Regions from separate parts of the Homo sapiens genome. Here all the other regions are linked to region 7. The links are contacts of gene promoters, found by promoter capture Hi-C in blood cells and fetal thymus (Javierre and others, 2016). All regions are on one chromosome and are shown on one strand. The core of a region is centred on a gene start or on the middle of the fragment in contact, and the rest is flanking DNA. Distances in the headings are between cores, read along the strand shown.

What was found. The method cuts DNA at HindIII sites, captures the fragments that hold promoters and counts their contacts. A CHiCAGO score of 5 or more calls a contact.
Region 1: a fragment that was not itself captured here is called in contact with the fragment with the promoter of PRKDC in region 7 in 1 of 17 cell types (naive CD8 T cells); the score reaches 6.2 in naive CD8 T cells.
Region 2: a contact is called between a fragment that was not itself captured here and the fragment with the promoter of PRKDC in region 7, in 1 of 17 cell types (neutrophils). The highest score is 7.9, in neutrophils.
Region 3: a fragment that was not itself captured here is called in contact with the fragment with the promoter of PRKDC in region 7 in 1 of 17 cell types (total CD8 T cells); the score reaches 5.4 in total CD8 T cells.
Region 4: a contact is called between a fragment that was not itself captured here and the fragment with the promoter of PRKDC in region 7, in 5 of 17 cell types (neutrophils, total CD4 T cells, fetal thymus and 2 more). The highest score is 10.6, in neutrophils.
Region 5: a fragment that was not itself captured here is called in contact with the fragment with the promoter of PRKDC in region 7 in 1 of 17 cell types (naive B cells); the score reaches 5.4 in naive B cells.
Region 6: a contact is called between a fragment that was not itself captured here and the fragment with the promoter of PRKDC in region 7, in 4 of 17 cell types (neutrophils, total B cells, M0 macrophages and 1 more). The highest score is 11.5, in neutrophils.

The regions. Positions count from the first base shown.
Region 1 is chr8:48,950,836-48,954,180 of GRCh38, forward strand. No RefSeq gene overlaps it. Among named protein-coding and RNA genes, the nearest start is that of SNAI2, 31 kb to the left of the region's middle. The HindIII fragment of the contact is 173 bases long and covers 1,868-2,040 here.
Region 2 is chr8:47,326,335-47,329,816 of GRCh38, forward strand. The region is part of intron 5 of SPIDR (scaffold protein involved in DNA repair); the gene reads left to right. Among named protein-coding and RNA genes, the nearest start is that of SPIDR, 67 kb to the left of the region's middle. The HindIII fragment of the contact is 3,871 bases long and covers 1-3,482 here.
Region 3 is chr8:47,308,598-47,312,076 of GRCh38, forward strand. All of the region lies in intron 5 of SPIDR (scaffold protein involved in DNA repair), which reads left to right. Among named protein-coding and RNA genes, the nearest start is that of SPIDR, 49 kb to the left of the region's middle. The HindIII fragment of the contact is 1,435 bases long and covers 619-2,053 here.
Region 4 is chr8:47,280,670-47,284,112 of GRCh38, forward strand. It overlaps SPIDR (scaffold protein involved in DNA repair), which reads left to right. Exons shown (of 20, transcript NM_001080394.4): 3 at 3,359-3,425. Among named protein-coding and RNA genes, the nearest start is that of SPIDR, 21 kb to the left of the region's middle. The HindIII fragment of the contact is 528 bases long and covers 1,632-2,159 here.
Region 5 is chr8:47,182,974-47,186,544 of GRCh38, forward strand. No RefSeq gene overlaps it. Among named protein-coding and RNA genes, the nearest start is that of SPIDR, 76 kb to the right of the region's middle. The HindIII fragment of the contact is 907 bases long and covers 1,738-2,644 here.
Region 6 is chr8:47,204,281-47,207,563 of GRCh38, forward strand. No RefSeq gene overlaps it. Among named protein-coding and RNA genes, the nearest start is that of SPIDR, 55 kb to the right of the region's middle. The HindIII fragment of the contact is 1,089 bases long and covers 1,484-2,572 here.
Region 7 is chr8:47,958,861-47,962,311 of GRCh38, forward strand. It overlaps PRKDC (protein kinase, DNA-activated, catalytic subunit), which reads right to left and starts at 1,276. Exons shown (of 86, transcript NM_006904.7): 1 at 1,113-1,276. The coding sequence starts at 1,266. It overlaps MCM4 (minichromosome maintenance complex component 4), which reads left to right and starts at 2,081. Exons shown (of 17, transcript NM_182746.3): 1 at 2,081-2,154; 2 at 2,271-2,354; 3 at 2,656-2,820; 4 at 3,193-3,356; 5 at 3,445-3,451. The coding sequence starts at 2,285. RefSeq lists an enhancer at 745-904 and silencers at 1,085-1,134, 1,145-1,444, 2,115-2,514. The HindIII fragment of the contact is 8,899 bases long and covers 1-3,451 here.

The DNA.
Region 1 (3,345 bases), core at 704-3,203, 990 kb after region 7:
GGTTGGCTAGTTAGGAGTCCCTGGGTAGCAGAGCAGCAAAGGGAGAGATTTGGGGGTTTCCTCTCCTTCCTTGTGTCACAGTCATGCCTCCTGCCCTGAAGAGCAAGCAGTTTGGTCACCCTTTGCCTAAAGTGCCAGCTCCCACTGGGTTTCAGAGTCTCTGTTCCCTCCCTGTGCCCCTTCCATCCTGTGGGTGGTGCCAGTCTCCTGCTCCTACTTAACTCCGTGCACCTCATTGTCTTGTTTGTTCTTTTCCTCTGTCTGTGTCTGTATGAGTAAGCCCTGCTTTTAAGGATCTTCATTTGACCATTGGGGTGAAGTTTGTTGTTTGCAGGGACCCTTATTCCTTCACATGCCCATCTTGCTACCCAGCTACAGGGTCCTGGAAGCCTGGGAATTATGGGCGAATTATGTGTCATTCAGGGTAGGCTAAGTCATGCTGCAGTAAGGAAACAAATATTAAATTTGAACAACATGAACTATCACTAGCTTAAAACATAGAGGTTTATTTCTTGCTTTATGTTAAATGCACATGTTGAGACTATGTCTAGAGTAGGGAGGGGACTCTCTGCTTTTTATAGAAACTTGGGATTCCAATTGTCATGGCAGAGAGGAAGGGACTGACATTTGTAATAAAATATTCTCTTCTAGGAGTGGCACACGCCAGGCTCTCCATAGCCATTTGGCCTTAGAACTAGTCATATGGACCCACCTAAACAGAAGAGGGGCAGGGAATTCAGTCTTGTCATCTGAGGGCGGAAAGTCAGCATGTTTAACAAATAGCACTAGTTCCTTCTAAGTGTGCGCTTCTGTCACACATACTCAGCTCATGGTCCTCCCCAAAGGCAAGATGTTCTCACTTCTTCTTAAGGGGAGCAGCCCAGGGTTCCAATCCTGGCAGGCCCTATACTTAAAGTCAAGACTGTCTGCAGAGTGTCTGAGGCCTCCACAGGTGGATGTCTGCCTTGGTCTACAGACCAATGAGCTGTCCCTTTATACACCTGATATATGATGGTGAAAAGGGAAGAAAAAGTCGACAATAAACACTCTCTCCACTTGAAAAAATAATAATGAGGGACATACAGAAGTCACTGGGACTCTAAGTATTCACTGGGCAGATATTTTAAGCATCCCTCACACAGGAAGTGGAATTATTCCTTGACCCAGCTCTGATTCTTCTTCCCAGAGTGCCTTGATCACCATGGTCTCCAACACATCCTGAAATATTCTTCCTTCTTCATATGCTCCTTGGTCACATTTGAAATGGTCACTGGGCATGGTTGCTCCTTGGGGACTAGTTTCTTGAGCCACTACTTCCCCATGGAATGTTATACACATTTGGTTCTTTTAATTCTAATACAGTCTCAGTCTCCTTTCTCCCTGGCTGATTGTTTCTTTAGGCAGCAAAACCCTCAAAAGACTTTGGTGGCTTTCAAGAGAATTGATTCCTCAAGTATATGTGGCAAAAACACACCCACTGTTATTTTCTAGATATGTTTCTTAAATTCGCTATATTTCTCTGCTTTCTGGGTACCATGTCTTTCTCTCTCACAACTTTAATTCTGGCTTCGGAAGCTGAAATCTTATTTCCCTGAATCATTTTGTCCACTTGAGATTTATTTGGTGCCAAAATTGTAACTGATCATTGCTTTAAAATACCTCAATCCATCCTGATATTGTAACAATGCATGTGACTTCTATGCCTTGGTATTAAAAAAAATGTTGTTTGTAAAATGTCCCACAATCTGGATTTATGTGAAGATTTAGGTTAACATTTTTGGCAGGAGTACCACATAGGCGATTAACATTATTCTAATAATTGTGTCAAATCTGGTGGCACATCATGTCAGTTTGTCTTATGATATGAAGCTTGATCGCTTGATCCCTTACTAATCATTTTGCTGTTTTAAAAAGAGCTTTTTCACTTTGTAAATAATCTGCATGGGGTACTTTGGGCAAGGAAGTCCATTCTGGATTAAAGGACACTAAAAATACTCTCTGGGTGGTCTCGTGTGCTTTAGCCACAGCTTGCTGGTGGCAAGCTTCTTGGTCTGGAATGGTCCTGGCTGCAGTGACAGCTCTCCCCCTGGGGTCTGTCACTCAGGCTCTTTCCTATGGGGGACACATTCTCATGGTGGGGTGTGGATCTCCAGTAGAATGCTAAACTTCCTAACTGTTTTTCCAAGGCTTTGCTAGGGTCTAGTTTGCTATGACTCATTGGCCAGAGAAAAATCCCACTGCCAATCTCAGAGTCAGTGTAGAAATGTATGTCCAAAGGGCATGGTCACAGGGAGGGCTAAATAAAATGGAGGCTCTTAATGAGTCAGAATGTAAATGCATATGTAATACTGCAGGTGACTGACAATTCTCCTCTGCAGGGAATAGTAGTCTTCATTCCCATCAGGAATGAAATTTTATCTGTTAAGAATTTATTGGACTGTCTATTTCTCCAGGATCTCCTCCACAGTATATGTTGTTAAATTTTGGGTTATGTCATCAGTCTGATTTTGGAAAATTGTATATCACATCTTAAAAAATTGCATTTCACTTATGCAAAACAGAGAGCATTTTTAGTAAGGTGAACTGCCATTTGTAGATTTTTTTTTCCTGTAAGCTGGCTTTTTATATCTTCAATCTATTATTAATTGTGTAATTGCAGCTTTATATATTACAAACGAAACCCTTTGTAAAATGTTGCAAATATAGTTTTACTTTGCTTATGGTGTTTTTTTGTTTGCCTGTTCATCACAGAAATTTTTATGTAATAAAAAATTCTATTAATAAATATTTTCCCTTATTGCTTCAGGATTTCAAATGATAGGAAATTGTTTTCTGCTGCCATGTTTCAGAGAAATTCATTGGTGTTTTCTGTTAATACTTGTATGGTTTCATTTTTCACATTTAAATGGCTGATCAATTTGCAATTTATCTTGCTTTCTAGAATAATAATTGAATTTCTTTTCTTTTAAAATATGAACATCAATTTATTTTAATAATAACAAAGAACATCAATAAATTTCTTTTTTTCCTTTGAAATCCACTTCCTACTTTTTAAAAATATATGTATTATATATATTTATTTATTATACTTTAAGTTCTAGGGTACATGTGCACAACGTGCAGGTTTGTTAGATATGTATACATGTGCCATGTTGGTGTGCTGCATCCATTAACTCACCATTTACTTTAGGTATATCTCCCAATGCTACCCTCCCCCTTCCCCCACCCCACAACAGGCCTCGGTGTGTGATGTTCCCCTTCCTGTGTCCAAGCGTTCTCATTGATCAATTCCCACCTGTGAGTGAGAACATGCAGTGTTTGGTTTTTTGTCCTCATGATAGTTTG
Region 2 (3,482 bases), core at 333-2,832, 630 kb before region 7:
AATGCAACTCTTTTCTTTAAAGAATGTTTGCTTTCAGCCTTGCCACGTACATACACATCTTTAGCAACATCCAGTTTGTTACCAGGTCTCTCAGTTTACTTTTTAAAAATTTTACTTTATTGAGGTGAAATTCACATAGCATCAAATTAACATTCAAAAGTGAATAATTCAGTGGCACTTGGTGGATTCACAAAGTTTTGCAACTAATACCTGTATCTCATTCTAAAACATTTCATCACTCTGCAAGGAGACACTATACTATTAAGCATCCATTCCGTATTCCCCACCTCATCTCAGTCCTTGGTAACACCAGTCTGCTTTCTGTCTCTGTAGTTTTACCTGTTCTGTTATTTCACATAAATGGAAATCATATAGCATGTGACCTTTTGTGTCTGGCTTCTTAACAAAATGTTTTTGAGGTTCCTCCACATTGTAGCATGTATCAGTACTTCATTCCTTTTTATAGCTGGATAATGTTCCATTGAATGTATATGCCACACGTTGTTTAGCCATTCATCCACTGATGTGTATTTATTTCCTCCCTTTGGCTACTGTGAATAGAGCTGCTAGAACCCTGGTTTACACATTTCGGAGTACCTGTTTTCAGTTCTCTTGGATATATATGAAGGAGTGAAATTGCTGGACTATATGGTAATTTTATGTTACTCTTTGAAAAACTACCTGTTTTCTGCAATGACTGAACCATTTTACATTCCTGTTAGCAACGCACAAAGGTTTCAGTTTCTCCACATCCCTTGCCAGCACTTACATTATGGTCTCTTCTACCCACTTAAAAAAAAAATCCTAGTGGCTGTGAAATGATACCTTATTAAGGTTTTGGTTTGCAATTCTCTAATAGCTAATGATGATGAGCACTGTTTCATGTGGTGGTTGGTGATCTGAATATCTTCTTGGAAAAAATATCTATTCAAGTTTTTTGTTGATTTCTTTTTCTGGTTGTGTTATAAGAGAATGATCTATATATTCTGGATACTAGACCCTTGTCAAATATATGACTGGCAAATGTTTTCTCATATTCAGTAGGTGGTTTTTTCACTTTTTTTTTTTTTTTTTTGAGACAGGGTTTTAATTTTGTTGCCCAGCTAGAGTGCACTGGCACAATCATGGCTCACTATAGCACTACAGCCCCAACTTCCCCAGGCTCAGGTAATTCTCCCACCTCAGCCTCTCGAGTAGCTGGGACTACAGGCACGCACCAGCACACTTGGCTAATTTTTTCCCCCTCGAGGCAGAGTCCTGTTCTGTTGCCCAGGTTGGAGTGGAGTGGCGCAATCTTGGCTCATTACAACCTCCACCTCCTGTGTTTAAGTGATTCTCCTGTCTCAGCCTCCCAAGTAGCTGGGATTACAGGCACGTGCCACCATGCCTGGCTAATTTTTGTATTTTTAGTAGACACGGGGTTTCACCATGTTGGCCAGGCTGATCTCAAACTCCAGACCTCAGGTGATCCACTTGTCTTGGCCTCCCAAAGTGCTGGGATTATAGGCATAAGCCACTACACCTGACCTGATTTTTGTATTTTTGTAGAGATAGGGTTTCGCCATGTTGCTCAGGCTTGTCTTGAACCCCTGAGCTGAAGCGATCCACCCACCTTGGCCTTCGAAAGTGCTGGGATTACAGGCATGAGCCACGACCCCTGGCCGTGTTTTTTTTTTGGTTTTTTTTTTTCACTTTTTTGACAATATTCTTGGATGCACAATAGTTTTTAGTTTTGAAAAAAGTTCAGTTTATCTATTATTTCTTCTGTTGCTCATAATCTTGGTGTCATATCTAAGAAACAATTGCCAAATCCACGATCATGAAGATCTATTATCTATGTTTTCTTAGGTTTTTGCTCTTCTATTTAGGCCATTGATGTATTTTGAATTAATTTTTGTGTATGGTGTGAGGCAGGTGGTCCAACTACATTTTTTTTTTTAAAGAGATAAAGTCTTGCTCTGTCACTCAGGCTGGAGTGCAGTGGCATTATCATAGCTTACTGCAGCCTTGAACCTCTGGGCCCAAGTGATCCGCTCACCTCGACCTCTCAAATAGCTAAGACTTCACCAAGACTGGCTAATTATTTTTTTTTTTTTTTTCAGAGATGGGGTCTTGCTATGTTATCCAGGTTGTTCTCAAACTCCTGGCTTCAAGTGATCCTCCCACCTAAGCCTCCCAAAGTGTTGGTGATAACAAGCGTGAGCCACCACGTTGGGTACCAACTTCATTTTTTTGAATATGGAAATCCGGTTGTCCCAGCACCATTTGTTGAAAAGATTATTCTTTCCTTACTGGCAGGTCGTGACACCCTTGTTTAGTGTATTGTATCTCTTATGCAGAGCATACAGTGGAATCTTCACTTTTTTATCCTGCATGACAGTCTCTACCTTTGGCTGGGTTAATTTATGTACATTTAATGTTATTGTTGATATAGTTGCATCTATGTACACCAGTTTACTTTTTCTTTTTCTAAATGTTTCAGGGTTTTTTTTCTCAAGTCTTTCCTCATTTCTTTTACTTTAAAGCAGTATTTTCTTTGGCAATATTTAGTTCTTCTAATGTCATTTTCACAATTTTTTTTTTCTTTTTGGAAACAGCATCTTGCTCTGTTGCACAGGCTAGAGTGCAGTGGCAGAATGTTGGCTCATGGCAAACTCCACTTCCTGGGTTCAAGCAATTCTCGTGCCTCAGTCTCCTGAGTAGCTGGGATTACAGGCATGCGCCACCATGCCTAGCTAATTTTTTTTTTTTTTTGAGATGGAGTCTCACTCTGTCGCCCAGGCTGGAGTGCAGTGGTGTAATCTCAGCTCACTGCAACCTCCGCCTCCTGGGTTCACGCCATTCTCCTGCCTCAGCCTCCCGAGTAGCTGGGACTACAGGCACCCGCCACCACGCCCGGCTGATTTTTTTGTATTTTTAGTAGAGATGGGGTTTCACCGTGTTAGCCAGGATGGTCTCGATCTCCTGACCTCATGATCCGCCCGCCTCAGCCTCCCAAAGTGCTGGGATTACAGGCGTGAGCCACCGCGCCCGACCCAATTTTTGTATTTTTTTGTAGAGACAGGGTTTCACCATGTTGGCCAGGCTGGTCTCTAACTCCTAGCCTCAAGTGGTCTGTCCACCTTGGCCTCGCAACGTGTTGTATTACAGGTGTGAGCCACTGTACCCAGCCTACAATATGTTTTTGAGTGAGATTTCATGGGTTGCTTTAGTGCTTATCAGGTACATCTCAACCAAATCTTCCTTAGATTTGTTACTAGTTTTATGCCAGTCACGCATAGAAACATTACCACTATATGGCTCTACTTTCTCTTCCTCCTTTTTATGCTATTATTGTTATACATATTGTATCTGTTATAATTATTAGTATAATTTTGTCTTTTATAGAAGGGAAAAGAAAGGAGAGCAAGTATACGTTTATAGTGTTAGATGACCCTTCTTATTTACCATTTTTTGTTCTCTTCATTGGTTCCTATGGAATC
Region 3 (3,479 bases), core at 86-2,585, 650 kb before region 7:
ACTAAATCCTTTAAATCCCCAGCAGTTACTTTGTGGGTGGGGGTGGGGATGGGGGTGGGAGAGGGCTTGTAACAGTGAGTGGAGATGAAGCAACAATGTGTGTCCACCTCTTTGTCCCATTTCTGTGATCAGAAGTAGCATTCAGTGATCAGGGCACACATGCCCTATATTTGGAAGAGAGGGTCCTTTTTGCCTGTCCTTGGTTCCTGTAAGCTGCGCGCAAGCTGCTCCTTGGAATGCATGCACAACTGCCTGCCTTGGGGCTGAGGGTGGCAAATGGATAGCTGCTACTGTGCTAGTGCTAATACCTGCAAGTGATTAAAATTATATTCAGGCCTTCCCCTGGACATTAACAAGCCTTCAGTAGATTCCAGAGTTTCAAAATAGTTAAATAGAACAGATTCTGCCAGTGCAATGATCTTCTAGGTGGAGCAACACATGCGTGGTGCTTCCTACTCCACCATCTTCCCAGAATCCTCTGATTGCGTATAAGTTACCTATAGTTGAAAGAGTTTAATTCTGATCATCATACATTTTAGAAACCTCTCATATATGCTTATATAAAAACTGATAAAATTTAGTGCTTGTAAAGGGAAATCTGGAGTTCTTAGTCAAGCTTTTTGTATGATTATATTTTAAAGATTTAATTATAGAAACATTGTACTGAAGTCTATATTCCAGTGTGTTCTTATGGTAAAAAGAAAAGGTTGGAGATTTTATTGAGGAGTCTGTATTTTTTTACTGTTATTTTATATTATAACTCATGTATTATATACTGTATCTGTTCATTATCTTAGTATAGCATTTTCGGGCTTTTATTCTCTTTATGAAAGTGAGTAACTGTAGGTACCAATATCAATTGTTGCATCTGTGCCAGAAATTATATTTTATCTTTTCATCATCTCCCTTCTTGTATAGCTGAACTTTAGCTTAAAAGATGCCAGGACAAGGAGTTTGTCAGATTGTTCCTTTTCTTTGCATGAACCTTCTTCCCCTTTCAGTATCACTGGGTCATCTTATTTCCCTTCATTCCCCTCTTTCTTCTCCATCTTTTCATTTCCCAAATACTTCTGTTTTCTGATATAAGAAGGACTATAACAGAAAATGATTGCTTTAGGAAATATTGTTACAACTGTGTAATGTTAAAAAGTAGTAAGTTGGCCAGGCACAGTGGCTCACGCCTGTAATCCCAGCACTTTGGGAGGCTGAAGTGGGCGGATCACGAGGTCAGGAGGTCAAGACCATTCTGGCTAACACAGTGAAACCCTGTCTCTAAAGAATACCAAAAAAAATTAGCCGGACATGGTGGCGGGCGCCTGTAGTCCCAGCTACTCAGGAGGCTGAGGCAGGAGAATGGCGTGAACCCGGGAGGCAGAGCTTGCTGTGAGCCGGGATTGCACCACTGCACTCCAGCCTGGGCGACAGACTCTGTCTCAAAAAACAAAGTAATAAGTCGGCCAGCGCTGTGGCTCACGCCTGTAATCCCAGCACTTTGGGAGGCCGAGGCAGGCAGATCACGAGGTCAGGAGATTTGAGACCATCCTGGCTAACACAGTGAAACCCCGTCTCTACTAAAAATACAAAAAATTAGCCGGGCGTGTTGGTGGGCGCCTGTAGTCCCAGCTACTCGGGAGGCTGAGGCAGAAGAATGGTGTGAACCCAGGAGGTGGAGGTCGCAGTGAGCTGAGATCGCGCCGCTGCACTCCAGCCTGGGTGACAGAACGAGACTCCATCTCAAAAAAAAAAAAAAAAAAAAGTCACTATGGATGTCACTTTTGTAGTCTTCTGGTATTATAAACAATTCTTTGGAGTTGTGCTTTTAATAATTACAGAGGGGCACATGTCGGACTACCTTTCCTGAAAATAACAATGACAACTTTTGGACAAAATATAAAAAAAGTATGTGAAAGCACAGTAGGAGGACAGAAAGTAGGAAGAAACTGAAGGATGTTGACATTTGGAAGATAGAATGGTATAAGATGAGCATTTCATTTTTTGTGGATGTTTCCCAGAGGACAGAACTCGGTCATTGGTTGTGTAGGTGACGGAAGCTTGAATAAAAACCACAAGACAGAGTTAGGGGTGACTCTAGCAGCTAGAAAGTTAGTGAGTATAAAGTAGTCTTTCATAAAGAAGGGTGTCCCAAATTCTGCATAAAAGTCTTAGGCTAAAATAACTAAAGATATTTCATTTGCACAAGAAAGAGTTCAGAGGTGTATAGCCAACTTACCTACCTATTAAGCAAAAAAAAACTAAATAGTCTTCAGAAGAACATAATCAAATCCAGAGTTTCTAAAAATGTACTATGCACAGTGTCCAGAATACAATCCATATTCAGTAGACACACACATACACAAACAGAAAAATGTGACCCATACTTAAGTGAAAAGCCAATTAATTGAGACTGGCCTTGATATGACTCCTATGTTAGAATTAGCAGCTGTTATAACTCTTCTTAAGGTTATATAAAGAAAATATGTACACCATGAATAAACAGATAAGAAACCTCAGCTGAAAAATGGAAACTAGGTAAAAGGACTAAATGAAAATTCTATAGGTAAAAAATACAATATTTCAAATGAAAACTGATTAGAGATTACAGAAGATTAGGAAAAGAAAAGGAGTCATTGAAGTTGTTGGATTCATAGAAGTTATTCTTTCTTAAAAAGTGAAAAAGAGATTTCAAAAAATGAAGCTAGCCTCAGTGGCTGGTAGGACAATATCAAAAGGTCTAACACTTGGAGTCCTAGAAATAGAGGCCAGGGGAAATTGGGTCAAAAAATTCTGGAGAAATTATGGCTGGAAATTTCCCTAAATTGGTAAAAAACATGAATTTACATGTTGAAGAAGTTCAGTGAATTCCAAACAAGATAAATACAATAAAATAACACTTAAGTACATTATAGTGAAGCTGTTGAAAATAATAGACAAAAAATCCTGCCTAGTTGCAGTGGCTTATGCCTGTAATGCCAACACTTGGGGAGGCCAAAGAGGGGTATTGCTTGAGCTAAGGAGTTTGAGACCAGCCTGGGAAACGAAGTGAGACTTCATCTCTACAAAAAGAAAAAAATCTTGAAAGCACCCTGAGAAATGCTAATGAATGGTAGCTGACTTCTTTTTTTTTTTATATTATTATTATACTTTAAGTTTTAGGGTACATGTGCACAATGTGCGGGTTTGTTACATATGTATACATGTGCCATGTTGGTGTGCTGCACCCATTAACTCATCATTTAACATTAGGTATACCTCCTAATGCTATCCCTCCCCACTTCCCCCATCCCACAACAGTCCCCGGAGTGTGATGTTCCCCTTCCTGTGTCCAAGTGTTCTCATTGTTCAGTTCCCACCTATGAGTGAGAACATGCGGTGTTTGGTTTTTTGTCCTTGCGATAGTTTGCTGAGAATGATGGTTTCCAGTTTGATCCATGTCCCTACAAAGGACATGAACTCTTCATTTTTTATGGCTGCATAGTATT
Region 4 (3,443 bases), core at 646-3,145, 680 kb before region 7:
GCGTGAGCCACTGTGCCCGGCTGCCTGGCTAATTTTTAAAAATCTTTCTGTAGAGACAGGGTCTTGCTGTGTTGCCTAGGCTGGTCTCTAACCCCTGGCTGCAAGTGATCCTCCCACCTCCGCCTCCCAGAGTGCCGGGATTATAGGTGTGAGCCCCCATGCCCAGCTCACACCTGAACCTCTTTAATCCATGCAGAACCTTTCTACTTCTTTGTTTGTAAATGAAGGATATTTACTAAGAATGTTCTCAGAAGATGAAACCATTGAGCATACTACTCTTCACAAGAAATGCATGTTTACTCTGGAGGCGTACTCTGGAGATATTGCAGGTTTGGTTCAGGACCAACACAATAAAGTGAATATTGCAATAAAGTGATCACATGAATTCTTTGGTTTCCCAGTGCCTATAAAAGTTATGTTTATATTATAATGTAGTCTGTTAAGTGCAATAGTATTATGTCTAAAAAAGCAATGTATATACCCTAATTTAAAAATACTTTGTTGCTAAAAAAAATGCTAACAATCATAGGAGCCTTCACCAAGGTATAATCTTTTTGCTGGGGGAGAGTCTTGCCTTGATGCTGATGGCTGCTGACTGATCAGATGGTTGGTGGTTGAAGATTGGGGTGGCTGTGGCAGTTTCCTAAAATAAGGCAAAAGTGAAGTTTACCACATCTATTTACTATTCCTTTCATGAAAGATTACTGAGTAGCGTGTGATGCTGGTAACATTTGACCAGTAATAGAACTTCTTTCAAAATTGGACTCAATCCTTCCAAAGCCTGACACTGCTTTATCAACTAAGTTTATAGGATATTCTAAATTACTTGTTATCACTTCAACAATGTTCACAGCATTTTCACCAGGAGTAGATTTTATCTCCAGAAACTACTTTATTTGTTCATTGGTAAGAAGTAACTCTTCATCCATTCAACTCGTAGGAAATTGCAGCAATTCAGTCATATCTTCAGGTTCTACTTCTAATTCTAGTTCTCTTGCTGTTTCTATCACATCAGTTTTTCTGCTGAAGTCTTGAACCCCTCAGTCATGCACAAGGGTTGGAATCAACTTCTTCCAAACTCCTGTTAATGCTGTATTTTGACCTTCTGTCATGAATCATGAATGTTCCTAATGGCACATAGAATGGTGAATATTTTTCTGAAAGTTTTCAGTTTACTTTGCCCAGATCCATCAGAGGAGTCACTATCTGTGGCAGCTACAGCCATATGACATGTATTTCTGAAATAATAAGATTTGAAAGTCAGAATCACCCCATGATCCATAGTCTGCAGAATGGAAGTGGTGTTAGCAGGTATGAAAACAGCATTCATCTCCTTGTACTTCTCCATCATAGCTCTTGGGTGACCAGGTGCATTGTCAATCAGCAGTAATAGTTTGAAAGAAATCTTTTTCTTCTGAGCAGATCTCAACAGTGGGCTTAAAGTATTACAGTAAAGAATGCTGTAAAGAGATGTGCTGTCATCCAGGCTTTGTTGTTACATTTATAGAGCACAGGCAGAGTAGATTTATCATAAGGGCGCTAGGATTTTCAGAATGATACATGAGCATTGGCTTCAACTTAATGTTACCAGTTGCATTAGCCCCTAATATGAGTATCAGTCTGTTCTTTGAAGCTTTGATGCCAAGCATTGACTTCTCTCTAGCTACGAAAGTCTTAAAGGGCATCATCTTCTAATATAAGGCTCTTTCATCTATATTGAAAGTCTGTTTTTTAGCGTAGCTACCTTCATCAGTGATCTTAACTAGATCTTCTGGATCACTTCCTGCATTACCTTGTACTTTTATGTTATGGAGATGATTTCTTAAACTTCATGAACCAACCTCTGCTAGCTTCAGACTTTTCTTCTCCAGCTTCTTCACCTCTCTCAGCCTTCATAGAATTGAAGAGAGTTAGGACCTTGCTCTGGATTCTGCTCTGGCTTAAGGGAATGTTATAGCTGATTCAATTTTCTATCCAGATTGCTAAAACTTTCTATTAGCAATAATGCTGTCTTACTTTCTTATCATTTGTGTATTCACTGGAGTAGCACTTTCAATTTCGTTCAAGAGCTTCCCTTTGTATTCACAACTGGCTTAACGGTTTGGCTCAAGAGGTCTAGCTTTTAGCCTATCTTAGTTTTTGTCATGCCTTCCTACCTAAGCTTAATCATTTCCAGCTTCTTTTTTCTTTTTCTTTTTTTTTTTGAGAGGGAGTCTGTCTCTGTCGCTCGGGGTGGAGTGCAATGGTGCGATATTGGCTCACTGCAACCTCCACCTCCCAGGTTCAGGTGATTCTCCTGCCTCAGCCTCCCGAGTAGCTGGGATTACAGGTGCCCGCCACCACGCCCAGCTAATTTTTGTATTTTTGGTAGAGATGGGGTTTCACCATGTGGGTCAGGCTGGTCTCGAACTCCTGATCTCAGGTGATTTACTTGCGTTGGCCTCCCAGAGTTCTGGGATTACAGGCGTGAGCCACTGTGCTCGGCCATTTCCAGCTTTTGATTTAAGGTGTGAGACATTCAGCTCTTCCTTTGCTTGAGCACTTTGAGGCGATTGTAAGGTTATTAAATTGACTTAATTTTAATATTGGTGTGTTGCAGAGAATAGGAGGCCTAAGGAGAAGGCAAGAGATGGAGGAACAGCTGGTTGGTGGAGCAGTCAGAACACACACAGCATTTATTAATTTTGCTCTCTTATATTGGTTTTGACTGTGGCACCCCAAATCAGTTACAGTAGTAATACCAGAGATCACTGATCACAGACCATCATAGCAGATTTAATAATAATGGTAAAGTTTGAAATCTTGGAATAATTATCAAAATATGACACAGAGACACAAGTTTATAGGTGAGCAGATGCTGTTGGAAAAATGGCATACAGAATTGCTTGACACAGGATTGCCAGAAATTTTCAATTTGTAAAAAAATGCTTTATCTATGAAGCACAATAAAACAAGGTATGCCTTTATATTCAGAATCTTTTGGCAATGAGATATTCTGGATAATTTTTGTGTTTGTGGTAACTTACAGAGTAATGCTATTACAAATTCAAGATAATTTGGGTATGAGTAGTAATGAGTACCTCATAGGCAGTTGGAGTCACATGTATGAGCAGATATTACACTGAATGTTAATGGGAAACGTTTTGGTCAGTCAGATCTCTTTAGATTCAGGAAAAATAGAATGAATTTATAAATATATAAGGAGTACATGCTTTGGGATTACTGAAATTGGTGAATTGGTAAAGGAAATCAGAGAAGAATATGTTAAGGAGAGTGTAGTTTAAGATTTTGAATATTTTATAAAAGTTTTTTTTTAGCATTTGTCACATAAATTCCATGATTATTATTTTGCCTACAGTCATTAACAGCTGAAGAGAAGACGATTACAGAAAAGCACCTTGAATTATGCCCTAGACCCAAGCAAGGTAACTATTTTGTTGATT
Region 5 (3,571 bases), core at 941-3,440, 770 kb before region 7:
CCTGACAAGAAGTAGGGGTGCTGGTGGGGAGTATCTGTTGGCTGTTCATGAACCTCTGGTTTCCCAGGCCTCTCTCCACTGGACATGGCAGCATCTCTGAATTACAGATTGCAATGTGCTGCCCTGCACGGTTGAACCATTTCTGATGCTTACTAGGCATTCTTTCCCATGTGCCCTGTCTCCTTTTCAATGCCAGTGACTTCCAATGGCCTATGCTTATTCACAGCAATAGTACCTAGGGAGTGCCCATGAAGCCCTTTTGTCCTGGTCCCTTGGTCTGCATGGGTTCCCTGGGGAGGCAGCTGCTGAGTGGGTCGGTTCCTGGGAACCTGCATTTAGGAAGCTCTGGGCTGTGCAGGCATCACCCTGGGATTCAGACAGGTGAGAGGCCCAGCCCTTAGAGGAGCTATGTCAGGGAGAGTGCCTTCCACCCTGAAGCCACCCTAGACCTGGAGGAGCTGCAGTCCCCTCCTCTGCTAAAGGGCCTTTGAGGAGAGTGGGGCTGACTCCCAACTGGGCAGCTCTTGAGAAGGACAAACGGCTGGTTTGTGCACCCATTGTCTGCTCTGTGTCTCCGTTGGTCCCTCTGTCTCTTCCTTTTCACATTTCTGCACATAAAATATACTGGCGTTTGTGTTCCACAAGGCAAATGTCCACTCTTTGCCTTGTAGACACTCAGCGGTTCATTTGCTCCTCAGATATTTTTTAACTCAGTGCTGGCTCATTGGCAACATGACCTTAGCCTTGCCTCCCTATGATTCGTGCTCCCAGAGCTTCCGGTTGATCCTCTACAACACACATACCGAGCCCCTGCTCCTCTACCCCAACCCTCTCCCATCCTTCAGTGGCTCTCACTGTCCTACAGCAGGGGTGGCAAATCTCTAGTGCCCACCCAGTACACTCTAGTGGAGTGTACTGCTCCACCCCTGCAGTACAGGGGACATTGCTAACTGATCTGTCACTTTTTGCCCTGATGCCACCTCGGAATCTTTTTCTTTTTTTTTGAGATGGAGTCTCACTCTGTCTCCCAGGCTGGAGTGCAGTGGCGCAATCTCAGCTGACTGCAAGCTCCGCCTCCGGGGTTCACGCCAATCTCCTGCCTCAGCCTCCCGAGTAGGTGGGACTACAGGCGCCCGCCACCATGCCGAACAAATTTTTTTTTTGTATTTTTAGTAGAGATGGGGTTTCACCATGTTAGCCAGGATGAGTCTCGATCTCCTGACCTCGTCATCCACCCACCTCAGCCTCCCAAAGTGCTGGGATTACAGGCATGAGCCACCGTGCCTGGCCCCACCTCGGAATCCTTCTTAACACATGCTCTGAAATTAGCACACTAGCAATGAAATGAAGATGACTTATGAAATAAAACCCACAGGTCATCCTCTGTACTGCAAGGTGGAACTCAATCTCTGGAGAGTGGCATTCCAGGCTTTTCATGACCCCTCCAGCCATTTCCCTTCTGCCCTCTCCAGGCTCTCTAGTCCCCATTCCATGCCTTTGCTCCTCCTTTTCCATCTGTCTAGAATGTTCTTCATCCCCTATCTCCTGGCAAACTACTCCTCATGCTTCAAGACCTCTGTGAAGCCTCTTCCCCTCCCCCAGCACTCATGTGCTCTCTCTGACTCTGTCTCTCTCTCTCTCTCTCTCTCTCTCTATATATATACACACACACATATACACATACGTACATCCATATACCTACACATGCACCTATTACTGACTATCAAACCCCAGGAAAGCTTACTAGCAAGGTCACTGAGAGTAAGGATGCTGCCTCACTCAGTGACCAGCAGTGACTCATATGTGCATGTGGAATCACCGTACAAAGAAAATGTAGGTTCTGTGCTTGCAAATGGCCCTGACCTTCATGGCACTACAGGGTGGATGATTAGCTACTCACAACACAGATGCAGAAAAGGGTCCATCTTTACCTGCCCCAGTATCGAGAAAAAGCAGTATGCATTCATTAACTGCACCTTTCAAAGTACTGTCCCGCCACATAGAGTTTCTGCTCCCTATCTTCCTTCAATAAATTCCCTCTTTTTTGGTTAACTTGTCTCTTGGCTGAAATCTTTTTCCCAATACAAACAAAGGGCTGAGGATTTCTGCACTTCCTAGTACCACTAATATAGCCACAGAAACTTTCTGTAAATGGTTTCATGGTATGTTTTTTCCATCCTGTTATTTTTAAGGGTTTTTTTTTTCTTTTTTTTTTTTTTGAGTCGGAGTCTCGCTCTGTTGCCAGGCTGGAGTGCAGTGGCGCAATCTCGGCTTACTGCAACCTCCGCCTCCTGGTTCAAATGATTCTCCTGCCTCAGCCTCCCAAGTAGCTGGGTGTCTGCCACCACGCCCAGTTAATTTTTTGTACTTTTAGTAGAGAAAGGGTTTCACCATGTTGGCCGGGATGATCTCGATCTCTTGGCCTCGTGATCCACCGCCTCGGCCTCTCAAAGTGCTGGGATTACAGGCGTGAGCCACCGCACCTGGCCTTTTTTTTCCATTTTAATAAGTACACTTAACATGAGATCTCTTAACATGAAATCTACCCTCTTAACAAAATTTTAAGTACATTATACAGCATTGTTAACTGTAAGCACAGTGTTGCACAGCACATCTCTAGAACTTACTTATCTTGCATAACTGAAGCTTCATAGCCCTTGAGCAGTGACTCCCCATTTCCTTCTCCCTCTGCCCCTGGCATTCTACTCCACTGCTGTTAGGCTGACTATGATAGAGACCTCACACAAATGGAGCCAGGCAGCATTTTTTCTCCTGTGACTGACTTATTTCACTCAGCATAATGTGCTCCAGTGTTATCCATGTTGTAGCATATGGCAAGATTTAATTCTCTATGAATTTGAATAGTATCCCATTGCATCTATACACCACATTTTCTGTAAACATTCATTGATCAGTGGACCTTACATTGCCTCCCTGTCTTTGAAACTGTGATTAATACTGCAATGAATAAGAGTGTATCGATATTTCTGCAAGATCCTAACTTCCATTCTTTCGGATGCATACTCAGATGTGTTCTTTGTTTTAAGGGTATATATTTTTATTTAGTTTGTCAATCCAAGTGAGAGCCTGGCAGGGCTCTATCACTTCAGTCACAAGAAACTGAGACCTGCCCCTCATCTCTGATTTTCATAGGTTTTGTCTCACCTCTCAGCTTCCTGCCTCCTGTGGATTGGGATTCCATATCTGTCATAACAGGGATTAGTGTGGGCTAGAAATCCTCGGTCTCCTGTTTCTTTTCCATCCCTGTGATATCATAAATTATGAATTTGGTCTTTGACCCCATTTCCCATCATACAACTCATAAAACGTTTAGAATTACTGAAGTGATGCCTTTTTGTATGCCACTGAGATGACTGATGGCCAGCAGTCCCTAGGTAGCTTCAGGATAGGGGCCAGTCACCAGAAAGACCAAGGCAGGGTTAGAGGATAGGGACTTCCAGCCTTGTCTCCCAACCTCCATGGAGGGAAGAGGGGCTGCAGGTTAATCACCAGTGGTCAGTAGTTTACTCCATCAAGCTTGTGTGATGAGGCCTCCATAAAAACCCAAAGG
Region 6 (3,283 bases), core at 778-3,277, 750 kb before region 7:
AAGAGGGTTTCCTTTTAAAAGACATATTAAATCCATTAATGTGCACACACACAGACACACACAGTCACACATACACATATACACACACAGAGACGCACATGCACATATACACAGATACGCACACACACACACATGCCCAGGCACACAGGCACGTACACACACATATAGACAGATATGCACCATCACACATACACACGTGCACACATGTAGAGTCACACAAGCACACATACACAGATGCACACTCACACACATGTCCTCACATGATTCCAAAACAGAGCAATGTCCTGCATGTGTCCAGTCAGGCTTCCTCCCACAGCACAATAGGGTCAGTGGGGAAGCCCCTTTGCTTCTTCCTCTCATTCCACCAAAGCACTGTTGGGTGCAGGGGCCATGGCCGTGCTTACAAGAACCCCACAGGCCAGCCAGGTGCGGTGGCTCATGCCTGTAATCCCAGCACTTTGGGAGGCTTAGGCAGGCAGATCATCTGAGGTCAGGAGTTCGAAACCAGCCTGGCCAACATGATGAAACCCCGTCTCTAATTTAAAAAAAAAAGTACAAAAATTAGTCAGGCATGGTACCGGGTGCCTGTAATCCCAGCTAGTTGAGAGGCTGAGGCAGGAGAATCGCTTGAACCCAGGAGGCGGAGGTTGCAGTGAGCTGAGATTGCACCACTGCACTCCAGCCTGGGTGACAGAGCGAGACTCTGTCTCAAAAAAAAAAAAAAAAAGAACCCCACAGGCCAAAGCTGAACCGGCTCAGGAGGTGGTACTATGGAACCATCTGAAAGACACGCTGGGTCAGGAATGTTGAGCTCGCCTCTATTTTCACCACAGAAAACAGGAGTCATGTGTGCACAGCCTCCTAAATGGGCCAATGGTCCTCAATCTTGCATGTCTCAAGATAATCTGTGGAGCTTCATAAATGTATAGCTCCTTGGGTGAAAATTCTGATTCAGGAGGTCAGGTGAGGTATAGATTTCCATAGTACAGAAAATAAAAGTTCCTCGGATGGTTCTGATGTTGAGCCAAGATGTATAAATCACTAAAATAAGCCATTGGAAAACATGATTGATTGTAAGGATATGGGTATGGATAAGGATTTAGGAGATGCCCTGAGGTCCTCTCTCTTCCAGAACCTTATTCTTTTCTTCATAGGCATGTGCCATGCTTGGTAATTTCACATTAACTTGTTTTGTGTCTGTCTCCCTCACTAGAATGTCAGCTTCTTAAGGGCAGGCACTGTGGCTGCTGTATTCACACCAATACTCCCGGTACCAGTATCTGGGAAGGCCTAGTGCTCAATAAATATTCACTGAATGAATGACAAGGAGCTGACTTTATGTACTTTTCATTGTCTTATATTTCAGATAGTGACTATATTTTTTTTTCTGTAAAAAATACAAGCATCCAAGTATGGTGGGAAAATCTACAAACACTATCACACACACAGAGACAAGAGCACACATACAGCAGTGACTGATGAAAGCTTAGGTGAGCTCTTAGTTCTCAAGGCTGTAGACTGAGGGAAGGGAGAGGAAGCAGGTTGGGGGCGTGTGTGTGCAACCCTTTTCCTCACTGAGTTGCAGGTAGGGGCATTGTGAGGCCAGCACCTCCAGCCTGGAACACTGATCCAGGACCCCCTAGTGTCTGGGGCTTGAGGCCCCACCCTGTCTTCTCAGGACTCTAAGCACATCTATTTCCAGGTATTTTCAGCTGCCACAGCCAGGAGGAACAGAATTGTTCCCCTCCCTTTCTGAGGCTCACTTTTAAAGCACTGGACTTGTGGAATCCAAGGCTCTCCCTGAAACACCAGTTCTGAGTGGATTTAAGAGGGTGGGGAGGGGAAGGGATCCTCCCCAACTAAATTTCACAGCTGCCCTCCTCATGCAATACAGGCCACGGCCTGCAGATGGGCAACAGTGATGGAGAGAAGCAGGAGTAGTACAGAATGAATTTGTGAAGACATGCACACACATGCACACACACACACATTTGCACATGCATGCACATGCACACATACCCCACTGCAAGAGAAAGGAATGTGACCCGTGGGCTGGTCTCTGGGCTGGGAGGCCCTGAGGCTGAGCCTATGGGAATCAGTCAGGAGGTTCTGCTGTTGCTCAGGCTTCTGCCTAGAAGCACCTTCTGCAAGATTGATGCTCCCCAGAGACTGGGGAAGAATCAGTAACTACCTCCTCCCCTGGCTGCCTGAGAACACCCAGGGCTTGTTATAGAATCTAACTGGGGTCCACTCACCCAGCGCAGTAAAACCAGATATCTAAACTGAGGGTTTTGCAGTGAATAGAAAGGAAGGCATTTATTGCAGGGCACCAAGCAAGGAGAATCTGGCGGGCTCCTGCTTAAAATCTGAACTCCCCGGTGGCTTGCAGATAAGGGTTTTTAAAACTAGTAGTACATTTCAGGAAAGCAGAAGCTACAGGCAAAATCACAAATCAATACACAGAAGTTACATGTTGTTTTTGGCCCCAAAGGGTGGGATATCTTGAAGCAGGGGCTTACAGGTCATAGGTAGATTCAAAGATCTTCTGATTTGCAGTTGACTAAAATAGAGAAGCTTTGTTTAAACATTTGGGGTCAGTAGAAGAATGTTAACTGGTTATGAGGAATGACTTTCTCTAAACCCCTTGGGAAGAAACTTAGAACCAAAAATCGTTTAAAGTTTAGTCTTCACTTCCCCTTTATCTGGGGGAATATGTCAGTGGATCCTTTCTGTGGGGTCCTCAGTGGGGATCCAAGCCTCTGAAAGACAACTCAGGGACATAAGCTAAGAGATTATCATTGGTTTCTGTAGGGAAAGCTAATATCTCTGGGACTCTAACCTCTTTAGCTATTGTTTTAGCCTACTGTTGTCTTCTTAACAAGTCACTTATTTACTTGTTGGGGATTGCGAAGTGCCTGGAATTGCCCTCAGAGGAACTCAGGATTTTCCTTTATTTCTGTGCTTGGGGTCTGCAGGCCCCTTAAAAAGGGGGTTCTTGCTTTCTCTCACATCCCTTACCCCAGGTTAACATAGTCAAGAATCTGAGAAAAAGGCAATGAAAATAAAACCTCTGTGTGTCTCACTTGGGAAGAATCAACTGTGCAGCTCCAGAAGTCACAGCTGCTCTCAGGTGAGCCTCCTTCCTAAGCTCTCTCCCAGGGCTGCTCCAGGGCAGCTGTCCCCATCCAGATGACTAGAATCCCACCCCATGAGACACACCAAGCCACTTGCTAATTCCTTGGGAGGTCTTGCATTTCCCCCGCAGGCCTCATCTCTGGAAACT
Region 7 (3,451 bases), core at 26-2,525:
GAATAGCTGGGACTACAGGCGCTCGCCACCATGCCCAGTTAATTTTTGTATTTTTAGTAGAGACAAGGTTTCACCATACTGGTCAGGTTGGTCTCCATCTCCTGACCTCAGGTGATCCAGCTGCCACAGCCTCCCAAAGTGCTGGGATTACAGGCATGAGCCACCGCACCGTGCCACATATAGCATCTAGTTTAAACTGTTTAAGTTATTCCTACACCATATTCACTACTAGACCCTCCGGAAGAAAATCTCACCTTTTAATAGGGCACAACATCAAGGTCTGCATACTCGTGTTTTAAAGAAGGAATACAGGAGATCCACATAATTAAGTATTTGAATATTTAAAATGCTAAAAAGAGGCACTTTTACTACAAAGGGGAAAAAGTTCCCACCCAGGCATTGCTAAAGAGTTAAAAGAACATGACTTCAATTACATTTCTTCAATTTTTCTCAAAGTAGGAACGGCAAATAGAGGGGTTTGGAAAAGGTACTGGTGGGATTAGGCGAGATTCAGGTGAAAGAAAATACTTTCTCTTGGCCGGGCCCGGTGGCTCACGTCTGTAATCCCAGCACTTTGGGAGGCCGAGGCGGGGGGATCACGAGGTCAGGAGTTCGAGACCAGCCTGACCAACATGGTGAAACCCCATCTCTACTAAAAATACAAAAAAATTAGCCGGGCGTGGTGGCGCGCGCCTGTAATCCCAGCTACTCGGGGGGCTGAGGCAGGAGAATAGCTTGAACCCGGGAGGCGGAGGTTGCAGTGAGCCGAGATCGCGCCACTTCACTCCAGCCTGGGCGACAGAGCGAGACTCCGTCTCAAAAAAAAAAAAAATTATTTCTCTTGCCCTGCCCCCCACTCTGCATAGCAATGATTGCCATATTAGGGGTCGTTTTCACCAACTTTGGCTTTAAAATATCTTTCCTCTAATACTAGGGGGTAAAAAGCAGTATGACAAATCCCTTTATACACATACACAGAAATTCCCCCAAGAATCTAATTGCTGTACTTCAAAATACCGTCATCTAAACACAGAGAAGCGCCGGGCTGCCCGGCTCCAGAACGACTCGGGAAGCCAGGACCCACCCGCGGCCCAGCTCGGGCCGGTACCCACCCAGCACCGCGGGGCTGCTGCTCAGGACGCATTCCTGCCCCAGGCCGCGGATCAGTTGATGACCGGCCAGGGCAGCACCGCAGCGGTCCGCAGCGGACAAGGTCTCCTGCAGCCGCAGCAGGGAGCAACGCACACCGGCTCCGGAGCCCGCCATGCCGCCGAGTCCCGCTCCCGCGCGTGCGCCCGCTCGGCCCGGACCCGGAAATGCCCCTACGCGCGGAGGCGGGGCTGCGGGGCGCGGCGGCAGGAACTTTCCCGGGGACCCCTGCGGGAAGGCCTGGCCAGTAAGCGCGCCTCTTTGGCCCGAATCAACATGGAAACCTAAGGAAAAACGTCTGACCTGCGGAGGTAGTTTGGGTGGCTACTTGGTGTTGGACTTGGCTAAATAAATACCAGAGGCAGATAAAACAAGCGAGGGGCCTAGGTCAAGAGTTCCAAGTTTGTTCCTCGATAAAAAACGACAAACGCGGTCGGGGGCGGTGATGCCCGCCTGCAGTCCCAACACTTTAGGAAGCTGAGGCGGGGGGATCGCAGGAGTTCGAGACCAGTCTGGGCAACATAATGAGACCATCCCCACCACCTCCCGTCCTTAATTTTTTTTAATAAAAAAAATCTTTAAGTGAGAAATGCATCTGTAATGTCCTTATTAACCAAAAACGCCTAAGGGATAAAGAAGCACACGCTCCCTAGCCAACGCTAGAGGAACACACCCCGAGAGCTGGTGCTGTAGGACCCAGTTTTCCCGCGAAAACGCTGCCGCGCAGGGGGTCAGACCATCTGGACCAAGGGGGGCCGAGCGAGGCCTACTTCTGGTTTACGCACGGGCGCTGAAAGAAGCGGCACTGTCCCCCCCTGCCGATGCGCAGTGGCGCCTCCCGGAGGCGGAGCCACGTACGAGCGCCGCTGTGATTGGTGAGGCCCCGCCAGGGGCGGAGACGACCTTGCCGCCGGCGGGAACTCTGGGTCTCGCGGTTTGGGAGCGCTACTCGCCAGGTGGACTCGGAGTCCGCGAGCGTCGTCGGCAAGCGGCCGCCTTTCCACGGTAACCGCGCGCCGGCGGGGAGGGCGTGGCGCGGAGCCGACGGGAACGTCCGCGCTGCGGAGCAGGGCAGGGAAGCCGGGAGGCGGGCCCGGCCCGAGCTTGTCCTTGTCGCGCAGGTACTCCGAGCACTATGTCGTCCCCGGCGTCGACCCCGAGCCGCCGCGGCAGCCGGCGTGGAAGGGCCACCCCCGCCCAGACGCGTGAGTCCCCCGAGCCGGGCCCACTACAGCCCCCGGCGCCGCCCCGTCTGCCCTCTCGCCGCAGCTGGCAGCGCTGGGTGGGTGCGCGGGACCCGGGCGCTCAGCCTCGGGCTGGGCGCTGCCGCTTGGTGCGCACAGACACCCACAGCAGGCTGTGGCCTGGGTGCTGCTTAATTCGATTGCCATTTGCCTCTGTTTGGTTTGGTTCAGTGGTGAGTCATAATGCCCCAAGGAAAAGACAAATCCAGGAAGGCCGGCCCTGAAAGTTAATGGCTGTCTTTTCTGTTTTGTGTGACACAAGCTCGGAGTGAGGATGCCAGGTCATCTCCCTCTCAGAGACGTAGAGGCGAGGATTCCACCTCCACGGGGGAGTTGCAGCCGATGCCAACCTCGCCTGGAGTGGACCTGCAGAGCCCTGCTGCGCAGGACGTGCTGTTTTCCAGCCCTCCCCAAATGCATTCTTCAGGTGCGTGTCTGAAGATCTTGGTTTTGCTGTGCTTGATACACAGCTGATGCTTTATCTGCTCAGGTTTACTGGCTTTATAACAGTTGGCATAACGCCTAAAGCATCCCCTCTGCACGTGACTGAGCATGTTCTTAACCAGAGGAGCTGAACGGAGTGCAGAAAATAGTAGTTTTAGGGCTTAGTGAGCAGAGGAAGCAGCTTCTCTGGTGCTTTTTTTTAATAGAACATTTAAGAGTGCTCAGAATCTCAGCCACCGCAGGTTGCAATAAATATTCAGTTTGCTGTTGCGATTAGATGGTATAGATCAACAGACAACATGCTGTAATTTCAGGTTTGATATGCCACCAGAATTTCCTAATTTTGTTTTTATAGCTATCCCTCTTGACTTTGATGTTAGTTCACCACTGACATACGGCACTCCCAGCTCTCGGGTAGAGGGAACCCCAAGAAGTGGTGTTAGGGGCACACCTGTGAGACAGAGGCCTGACCTGGGCTCTGCACAGAAGGGCCTGCAAGTGGATCTGCAGTCTGACGGGGTGAGTATGCAGTCTCCTGAAACCATCTTATGGCGGGTATCATGTGGGTAACTCTGTTTTCATGATTCTGTCATGTTTTTCTGTGTAGGCAGCAG